Linked DNA regions of Homo sapiens: region 1 is linked to region 2. The links are contacts of gene promoters, found by promoter capture Hi-C in human tissues and cell types (Jung and others, 2019). All regions are on one chromosome and are shown on one strand. The core of a region is centred on a gene start or on the middle of the fragment in contact, and the rest is flanking DNA. Distances in the headings are between cores, read along the strand shown.

Region 1 (5,266 bases), core at 1,385-3,884, 47 kb before region 2:
CCTTCTTGTAGGAAGCAGTTGGGTGTAATAGACTGTAGTTATTGTCTGTCATTCCAAAGCATCATGCCATGTAGCTAAGTACTCTGGGGAAGGGCAGGGATACAGAGAAAATCTGCATATACCATATACCACCAGGGAAGAAGATGTCTTTGTATGCCTTCTTGGGTACCAAATACAATAGAGTCTAGGTCTGTTTCCTTCTAAAGGACTTTCCCAGGAGTCCCACACAACAACTTCCACTTACATCTCAATGGTCAAAACTGCCTCATGGCCATTTCTGGCTGCAGGAGAAGCTGTGAACTAATTTTCTAGATGGGCACATTGTCATCTCCAACAAAATTAGATTCTATTAGTAAGAAAGAAGGTAAGATGACGTTTGAGTAAGCACCTGATGTAACCTCACCCACTGAGAATCCATCACCATGATGGGCCATTATTTTGCACAGAAGTACATATAATTCTTCAAGTGTCTAAATGGAAAAGTGATTGAACACTCTTATTTAGGGCCAGCACTGTGCCTGGCATCAGCAAATGATTAAATCATTACTTCTGGATGAATATATATACACATAAGTTATATATAATGTATTATATATAATAGATTCATTCAAAATGATTGATACACTAATATAATTTAAAATATATAGTCTATATATTATAATTCAGTGTATATATTTAGCATATATTTTTCCATCAGTATACTATTTGTATAGCCTTTGTTATCTTTATATAAATAGTATTGTTGTTTCTCAAGCTGTTACAGTTTGTCTATTATTGACTAACAAATCACCCCTAAATTTGATGACTTACAGCTACATCAAGGCTACATCTCTTACCACTTTGAAGGATCAATGATTTGAGAAGCCGAGTGGTTATTGTTTGGGGTCCCTGGCGCAATTGCAGTCAGACTGTGGCTTAACCAGGAACCAGGAGGTTGAGGCAGTGGGGGATGGCTGGAGATCTCTGTGTAGTCTCAAGTCCTCTCTGTGTGGTCTTTCCCCTTGGGCTACTTTGAGCTTCCTCACAGCATGGCAGTCTCAGGGAAGTCAGACCAAAGGCTTCAGGAGTAAGCATTCCAGTGAACAAAATGGAAGCAGTATTGCCTTTTATAACCTAGCCATAGAAGTCAGGGAATATCACTTCACCTGTACAAAAGCCCACCCATTTTCAAGAGGAGAGGACACAGACCATGTCCCTCAATGGGAAGAGTGTAAAAGCTACCTCGTAAGTACATGTAGGATGGGAGAAATATTGTACTTGGAAAATACAGTCTGCCACACAAAGTATTACCTAAAATAGACAGGAATACTTATTTTTCTCTTTAGAAGAGTTAAAGCCTATCTTTAATTCACACAGTTCTGGTTTGTATTGACTAGTTCTGTAGGTGAAAGTAAGTGCCGTTTTATTTTTTCACTAAGAAAGTGGCCCCTTGCACAGAGAAATAGACTCAGATTTGAGTGTGGAGTTTAAGGTAGGTCCCTAGATTAAATGAGAGCAAGGGTTATGGTTCTCTTTGTTTCAGGCAGCATAAGATACATGATGATTGGGGACGGGGTGGAGATAGAAATTCCTCCAGATGTTTCTAGCAGATACAACCACAATATAACAGGACACAAAACATGTCTTTTATACCAGGCTGCCCCAGAGAGAGGGCCAAAGGGCTCTTACTTTCCTGGCACTGGCTGGGCATGTTCATACTTTTTATTGACAGCCAGTATCAGGTCAGGCTGCACATGTACCTATAACTCAACAAAGTTACAAACTATAACACTCTTCAAATCTAAATATGAACATTTTTGCCTATATTCAAACTACAGCATTATTAAAACATTGCTGCACCTTGTTTGTATTCTAGGACCTACAGGATTCAATTAGTTTGGGATGTACTCTGGTTACTAAAGGGAGAAAGCTTGATATGAGGTAAGTATCTCTAAGTGCCCAGGCCACACAAAAGGACACTCTGTACATAGTCCTTACAACTTAAATAAGAATGATATAAGCATCTGAGTATTTGAATGTGGAGATGTAAACTCGGAGCTACTGTGTTCCTTTTATTTTTTTTATAAGAGATGGGTCTTCCTCTGTTGCCCCAGCTGGAGCACAGTGGCACCTTCATAGCTCACAGTAACCTCACACTACTGGGCTCAAGCAATCTTCCTGCCTCAGCTTCCGGAGTGGCAACATGCCTGGATAATTTTTTTTATCTTTTGTAGAGACGAGATCTTGTTATGTAGCCCAGGCTGGTCTTGAACGCCTAGCGTCAAACGATTCTCCCACTTCAGCCTCTCAAAGCACTGGGATTACGGACAGGAGCCCTCTTGTGCCTTCTATCTTAAAAGTTGCACAAATTCTGGTCAGTGTGTCTTTTGCCCATTTTGGGTTATCTTGCCCATGAAAGTATGCCTTTCTTTTTATTCTTGTGGCAACCCTCCTTGTTCAGACCCGAATAATTTTTCCTAGATTATAATATTATCCTAGATTATAATATAGTCTAGATTATATTATAATAATATTTGCCTAGATTATAATATTATTATATTATCCCTGTATAAAAAGCCTTTCATCCTACTAGATGCTGTCATGGAGAGGAAGCGTGGTGCACTGGTTGGGAGCACAGGCTCTGGAACCAGCCTGCCTGGTCAAATCCTGACTCTGTTTCTTGCTAGCGCTATAACCTGGACAGCTTCTCTGTCTCTTAGTGTCCCAACTGAAAATGGAAACAATACTTCTTTATCCAGTTATTGTGGGATATTAGATGAGTTAAAACAGGGAAAACTTTTAGAGCAGTGCTTTCCTTCCAGTTATTCAGGCTAAAAACCTCAGAGTCATCCTCAGGTCCTTTCTGTCTCACTCAACGCCAAATCCAACAAGAAATCCTGCTGGCTTCCTCTCAAAGTATAACCAGAATCTGACCAATCCTGGGCCCTTATCATCTCATGCCGGGATTCCTGGAATAGCTTCCTGTGTGACTCTCTGTTTCTGCCTTTGCTTCCCTAAAACTTCTTGTCCAAATAGCAGCCAAAGTCATCTCTTAATATAAATCAGATCATGTAACTCTTTTATTCCGAACCCTACAGTGGTTTCTGGTTTCACTGAGCGTAAAAACCCTGTCATTGCTTCTCTGTCCTCACCGCCTACCAATCCCCACTTTGTTCCCTCTGCTCCAGCCACACTGGCCTCCTTGCTGGTCACTGGACCATTGTAAGTGCATTTCCATCTTAGGGTTCTTCATTTATTTTTCTCTGCCTAAGGGACTGTTCCCAAAATAACTGCTTGGCTAAACCCTTCAATTCCCTCCTTTGTTCAAATCTCACTTTTTCAGTACTGCAGCCTGCACCCTCATCTTTCTTTTTCCTATACAGCACTTATTACCTTCTAACATGCTATACAATGCATTTAGTTACTATTAATGTTATTTATTGACTGTCTTCCTCATGAGAAAGTAATCTCTTCAAGGGTAGATGATTTTGTCTATTTTGTTCACTGCAAGTGCCTAGAACAATGGCTGGCATATTACGGGAGTTCAATAACTGTTGTTGAATGAATGAATGAATGAACGAAGCACTGAATAAGTATGTGCTATTGTTATAAATTCTCTTCCTCTGCTCACTCTTTAGTGGTTTAGTCAATCATTCAACAATTTGTTAAACTCCTACTATATGCCAACTGCTGTGCTAGAATATAAAAATGAAGTCAAATAATACCAATCCCCACAGAGATTTTCGCTTGGATAGAGGGCAACAAACATGCAAACAAGTCAAGTCAGATATTCTGCTGTTAAACAAATAGTTTTTGTTTGTTTGCTTGTTTGTTTGTTTTGAGACGGAGTATCGCTCTGTCATCCAGGCTGGAGTACAGAGGCGCAATCTCAGCTCACAGCAACCTCTGCCTTCCGGGTACAAGCAATTCTCCTGCCTTAGCCTCCTGAGTAGCTGGGATTATAGACACCTGCCATCATACCTGGCTAATTTTTGTATTTTTAGTAGAGACAGTAGAAACTGGACCTTTTCCTTATACCACATACGATGGACTAAAGACTAAAATGTATACCCCCAAACTATAAAAACCCTGAAGGACAACCTACGTAATACCATTCTGGACATGGGAACAGGCAAAGATTTCGTGACAAAGATGCCAAACGCAATTGCAACAAAAGCAAAAATTGACAAATGGGATATAATTAAAGAGCTTCTGTACAGCAAAAGAAACTATCAAGAACATAAATAGACAGTTTATAGAATGAGAGAAAATTTTTAGAAACTATGCATCTAACAAAGGTCTGATATCTAGCATCTATAAGGAACTTAAACAAATTTATAAGAAAAAAAACATTAAAAAGTGGGCAAAGGACATGAACACTTTTCAGAAGAAGACATACATGAAGCCAGAAAGCACATGAAAAAAAGCTCAACATCACTGATCATTAGAGAAATATAAATCAAAATCACAGTGAGATTTCATGTCACACCAGTCAGATGACTATTATTAAAAAGTCAAGAAATAAAACAGATGCTGGCAAGGTTGCAGAGAAAAAGAATGCTTATACACTGTTGGTGGGAGTGTAAATTAGTTCAACCACTGTAGAAAGCTATGTGGTGATTCCTCAAAGAGCTAAAAACAGAACTACCATTTGATCCAGCAATCCCTTTACAGGGTATATACTGAAAGAAATATAAATCATTCTATCATAAAGACACGTGCACACGTATGTTCACTCCAGCACTATTCACAGTAGTAAAGACATGGAATCAACCTAAATGCCCACCAATGGTAGACTGAATAAGGAAAGTGTGGCACAGATAACGCCATGGAATACATGCAGCCATAACAAAGAACAAGATCATGCCCTTTGCAGGAACCTGGATGGAGCTGGAGGCTATTATCCTTAGCAAACAACATATGTTCTCACTTATAAGTGAAAGCTAAATGATGAGAACACATGGACATATAGAGGGAACAACAGACACTGGGGTCTAAGGCTGAAGTCTGGGAGAAGGGAGAGGATCAGGAAAAATAATGAAAGGGTCTAGGCTTAATACCTGAGTGATGAAACAGTCTATGCAACACACCCCCGTGGCACAAGTTTACCTGTATAACAAACCTGCACATGTTCCCTTGAATTTAAAATATAAATAAATAAATACCAAGAAGCAGCTTGTCCTCTCCTTCTGGAATCTCTGCCTGGTTCAGGCCACCTGCCTCCACTCCTGCCTCCACCATGTCCATCAGGATGACCCAGAAGTCCTACAAGGTGTCCACCATGTGG
Region 2 (5,296 bases), core at 1,522-4,021:
CTTCTGATATGTAGATCCTTTGGAAGTATGCCTTTCTAGTAACAGCCATCTTGTCTATGGCTAATAACAGGCTCTTGGGAAATGCTCAAGAAGCTGGCATGATTTTTTTAAAAAAATATATAGTTCTTTTTATTACTGCTATATGCTGGGCACTTTAAATACATGCTGGGCACTATATTTAGCACTTTACATACATCCTTACAACTCTGCAAGATAATCATTAATATTCCCAGTTTACCAGTGAGTAGATGGAAATTAAATAATTAGCTTGAAGTCACTCCACTGGTAAGCAGTACCAGTCATTATTGAAATCCAGATCTATGGAATTTCACAGTCTGTGATACTTACCGAACTAGAAAGCTGCATAATGCTGGACATAATGTTTTGTATCAGATTCTAGTTTCACCACCATGATAGGTGGTGGCAGGTCTCAGACAAGGCTTTAAAATTCCCTTTCTCCTGCTTCTTGTGTCAAGGACACAAGTATCTCTTTATATTCCTTGCCAAGGACAAGAAGATCTCTTCCATGGAGCTTAGAGGTTAAAAGAAAAAAAGTTCTGATAAGGATTCACTTACTGGAAGTAAGAAAAAAATTTTAAATTGCTTTTTCTAATTACAAAAGCAATATATATGTATCATCTCAGGACATTTCTTGGGCTAAATAAAAACCTAAGGCAGCAAATGGGTGGTGGTAGTGGTGTGGTTTTGAGGATGAGAAGAGGTGGTCCAATCCCTTACTTAGATCTTTCTTATGATGTTATAGGGGAGCCAGAGATCACCTCCAAGCTCCCTTTTACCTCTTAATGAGCTCTCCAGTTGTATCTAGAAACCACACTGACACCAGGAAGATTACCAGGAGAAAAGTATACACATTTTATTAGTTTTATGTGCACATGGGGATCTTCACAAGAGAGTGAAGTCTGAAGAAGTGGCCAAAGTAAGATGCTTTTATTCATTTTTTTAGGTAAAGAGAGATAAATTTGAGAAGAAAAGCCATGACAAAGAAAATCTGGTTAAGGTGTTACAGTAGGTAGCTAGTCAGGCATGAGCAGGGCAGGAGAGGGCTCCCCCTCATACACACACACATCAGGAATGTCAGGCAGCCATCAGGTGATGGTCAGGTGGTTGTTAATTGTCTCTCTAAAATAATAGTTGGTCACAGCCGGCACCAGGGAAAGGCAGTCTCCTAATAGAAAACACTTGAACTGTTGATCAGCAGCTTCCCGATAAGATCTTAGGAGTTGGGCAAGTGGGCTCAAGTATGCGCCTGTGGACAGCTCACTCTAAGGGAAGAATCAGGAGAGAAGTAATGCAAAGCCCCAAAAGCAAGACCCCAGAAGTATGCCAACGTATAAAACCCCAGGTCAAAAGGTCAAACTACGCACTAGATCTCTCAAGTCACTGGCTTGGCCCTCTTCCAAGTGTACTTCCTTTCATTCAAAGCTTTTTAATAAACTTCACTTCTGTTCTAATACTTGCCTTGGTCTCTCCTTTTGCCTTATGCCCCTCAGTCGAACTCTTTCTTCTGAGGAGTCAAGAATTGAGGTTGCTGCAGATCTGTAGGAATTCACTGCCTGTAACATACTTTGGGGCCGTGTCTCGGATATGGGCAGCTGCTAACATATTTTGGTGCCCTGTGACTCGAGTTAACTTCCACAGCTCACAAAGGCAGTAACATTTTCTAGGGAGTCACTAGAAGATATATGTAAAAAATCTCCTATATCTCCTAGTGGAAGATAGGGTTACTTCGTTAAGAATGTTTATTCAGGTCCACTGCAGCCTTCAATTCCAAGCCTTTGGTGATAAAGGCTATTTTCTCACCGTGGTAGGGAGAGGATGCCCATCCCAGAGAAATCTTTGTGGCCTGCTGCATCGAAGAGGCAGGTCAGCTTGCCCTTTCTGAAACTACCATTTCTCCAATGTTTTCCGCTCGAAATAATCAATATACCAATTAGGCATATTTTGGAATGGCACACCTTCACTCCTTCAACGTCTTGTCCTGGGTACTTACCGAGATGACCAAATTTGAGTAGGTGTACAGAGTCCTAAGTATATGGAGTTACTTCATTTGTCCCTCTGAAAGATTGCAAATCGGACTAGCAATTCCCAGGGGGAAAATTCTAAGCAGTCAAAAAAGGACTCACAACCCTATTGCCGAGGACTAAAAGTATCAGCCCAATACAAAACATAGAACTCAAATTAAAGGGGAAAAGACTATCATGAGAACAAACAGAAGAGGAATCGGGGCTCCCTTCCCGCTCTTTATTGCCCTTAACACACTGTCTACGCTCCTTGTGCTCTCTATCCCGTTTTTAAATGTCCCTACACTGGTAAAAGCTGTCGCCTCGCTTCATTTCACTACCGCTTCTCCCAGCGTTAGCAGCACCTCCAGGCTCACAGTGCACTTGGTAGGGAGGACAGGTATTTATCCACGCGGCCCAAAGCTGGGTTTCGGTCGCTGGATAACACCTATTATTGACCCTTTTGTAGAGATAGCGTTGCGTGTGTTTGTGTTGCGCGGACGCAGAAATCTGGGAAGGGCGCTGCACAGCGTTTTCCAGCGCTGGGGAGACGCCCCCGGCCCCTTAGTCGCACCTGCCTAGGTGTGCTCGCACGGTGGGACCAGGGTGGGCAACAGATTTCGCCCCGGGCAAGTTCGCACGCGGAGCTCCCAGCGCCGCGGGTCTCGGAGAAGACGCCTGCCTCCCCGCGCATTTCCGGTGACGTGCTGCCGCGCCGCCCAATCAGCGCCCGCAGCCCGCGGGCTTGGGATTCAAACTGCTGCTCCTCCGGCTGGCGGGGATCAGCGCTGGCGCGGCTGCGGCCGCTGCTGCCTACGCGCCATGGAGCATCGCATCGTGGGGCCCGGGCCGTACCGAGCTACCAGGCTGGTGAGTGAGTGTGCTGGGGCCTGGGCGGAGCACCCGGTGCCGCGAGCCCCCACTCAGCGCGCGGACAGAGTGCTTGTCAGTCTTCGCTTCCGCAGGCCAGCGGGGCTCGGGTGTGGAGCATTTCAGCTGGGACTACTGGGGCTGCCTTTTAGTGGACGAGCCTCAAAGAAAGGCTAACGGGGCCCAGAGCTCAGCCGGCCGGGGGTTAGTGCAGCTTTGTCCATGAGATGTTGACTGGGTTCTCGGCAGTAGATGGCGCCTCTCTGTTTAAAGACCCCAAGACCAGGCTGTTCCCTGCCTTTTGTCCTCTGGAATCTAACCGACCCGGTCGGTAACCTGAGGGGCCACCACGTACCCCGTAACGCTCAGCGTTCGCGGCAGTCCAGGCAGGGCGTGTCTCCTTCCTGAGTGACACCTGATGATACCTGACGGGGTATTCGAATAAACGGTGCCCAGAACAGAGGGGCATCGCGCTGGCCGCATTTCCGGCCCCTGGCGTTTCTGTTTCTGTCAGCACCGATCCAGATGAAGAGCTGGCCAGGACAGATGTTTTAGGAGAGTCTTTGCCGACTCTGAGTTCCTGTTTTTTTTTTTTTTTTTTTCTGGGAGAAAAGCTTTGGTATTGAGGTGTACTTGGTCTGCTTTGACTTGGAACAATAAAGGGTGACAGTTTGGTAATGTCTGTGGCAAGTTTTTAGAGGACTTTCTGTGGAAGTGTAATGGTAATTTGGGAGGACAGTAACTTGCTCCTTGGTCTGCCGACCTCTCTGGCCACATTTAACATGGGAATTACTCTCATAGTTCCATGCATTATAATGAATACACAGGAAAAGATGGGAACTAACATCCAAACTCTTACTCAGCTAGACTCATGGAAGAGGTGAGGATGCTGGGATACAGATAATGTAAATAGAGTTTCCTTTTCTTTCCAAAGCCAGCCACACACTATACCAGTAAGTCAAGCCAGAGCTGAGAAGGCCAGCTTCTGGAAGAGAAATCATAGTTGGGGCTGATGGGTCTTTACTTTTTAAATTTGGCTCATAGATCGCTTTGAGAATCTGATGAAGATTAAGGATCTTCTTCACAGAAAACTGCACATGGCACATACTCATGAAATTTTACATGATTTAAGGGGATGGATCGCTTGAGGTCAGGAGTTCGAGACCAGCCTGGCCAACACAGCAAAACCCCGTCTGTACTAAAAATACAAAAATTAGCTGGGCATGGTGGCATGCGCCTATAGTCTCAGCTACTCAGGAGGCTGAGGCAGGAGAATCTCTTGAACCTGGGAGGCAGAGGTTGCAGTGAGCTGAGATCGCGCCATTGCACTCCAGCCTGGGCAACGAGCGAAACTCCATCTCAAAAAAAAAAAAAAATAATAAGGAGATTGGGAGAGTCTGTGACATTGTTTTATTTGGCATAAAGACAAGCATTTTATTTGCTCATCCTTTGGATCAGTAATCTGGGCTAGACTCATGTCAATGGTTCTTTTGTGGAGGTCACTCATGTGCCACAAATAATGTGACTTGGCTATTACTGGATGATGGAAGATGGCTGCTTGACTTGGTCCTGGCTGTTACCTGGGCCAGATATCTCTAACAGGTTATCGGAGGCATCTTCACGTAGTGGTCTCATGGTTCCAACGTAGCTAAAAGGAAGTTTCAGCTTGTGACTTTTTCTTCAAATCTCATTGGTCAAAGCAAGTTAAACAGCTAAATCCAGATTCTAGAAATTCAACTCCACTTCTTGATGGGCAGGGTGGCAAAGCCACAGAGGTGCATGTGGAGAGGATGGGAAGAATCATTGCACTCATCTTTGCGAACACTCTATACAGTATAGACACCAGAATGATCTGGGGTCAAGAATATTGATAAGTCTAACTTTAGGGAGGAAAATAAGGCATTTGATCATTCCCTTCACCAATTTATTTACAGCACTTACACAAGGAAAACATAGCAAGGCTGTGGTTCTTGACGTGACTAGTCTTCATTCTTCCTGCATTAGACTAAAAAAAAAATACCTCATAATTGGAATTGTATTTTAGTCTCATATTCACAGAATTGTATGAGGTACTTCTTTTCATGGATGCAGAGGGTCCATATATAGATAGTGCTGGATTCTTGAGTCACATTAAAATATTATCAAAGGAATTTGTTTAATTAAAAAAAGGTGCTCTCTGCTCTCTAGAAGTCTTCAGTCCCTAACAAATAATATTCAGGCTAAATTTAGGTTGATTAAGTTAAGAAGATAAATGACATGGATAATTAATGAAACAAACACCTCAGTTTCACCAGAATTTCCCAGGTAATCAATTCAGTTCTCAACTTCATAGTGTTTGAGGAACATAATATTAAACTAAGATGTGGAAAACAGAAAACAATAGCCAATTTTTTTTTTCAAAAGTG

What was found. The method cuts DNA at HindIII sites, captures the fragments that hold promoters and counts their contacts. A contact is called where the count stands out against the background at its distance.
Region 1: a contact is called between a fragment that was not itself captured here and the fragment with the promoter of DEPDC1B in region 2, in 1 of the 25 tissues and cell types used here (H1 embryonic stem cells).

Annotation. Positions count from the first base shown.
Region 1 is chr5:60,744,921-60,750,186 of GRCh38, reverse strand. It overlaps the pseudogene KRT8P31. Among named protein-coding and RNA genes, the nearest start is that of DEPDC1B, 47 kb to the right of the region's middle. The HindIII fragment of the contact is 7,640 bases long and covers 1-5,266 here.
Region 2 is chr5:60,697,641-60,702,936 of GRCh38, reverse strand. It overlaps DEPDC1B (DEP domain containing 1B), which reads left to right and starts at 2,771. Exons shown (of 11, transcript NM_018369.3): 1 at 2,771-2,891. The coding sequence starts at 2,844. It overlaps LOC124900982 (a long non-coding RNA gene), which reads right to left and starts at 2,697. Exons shown (of 2, transcript XR_007058779.1): 1 at 2,596-2,697; 2 at 850-1,283. The HindIII fragment of the contact is 4,370 bases long and covers 82-4,451 here.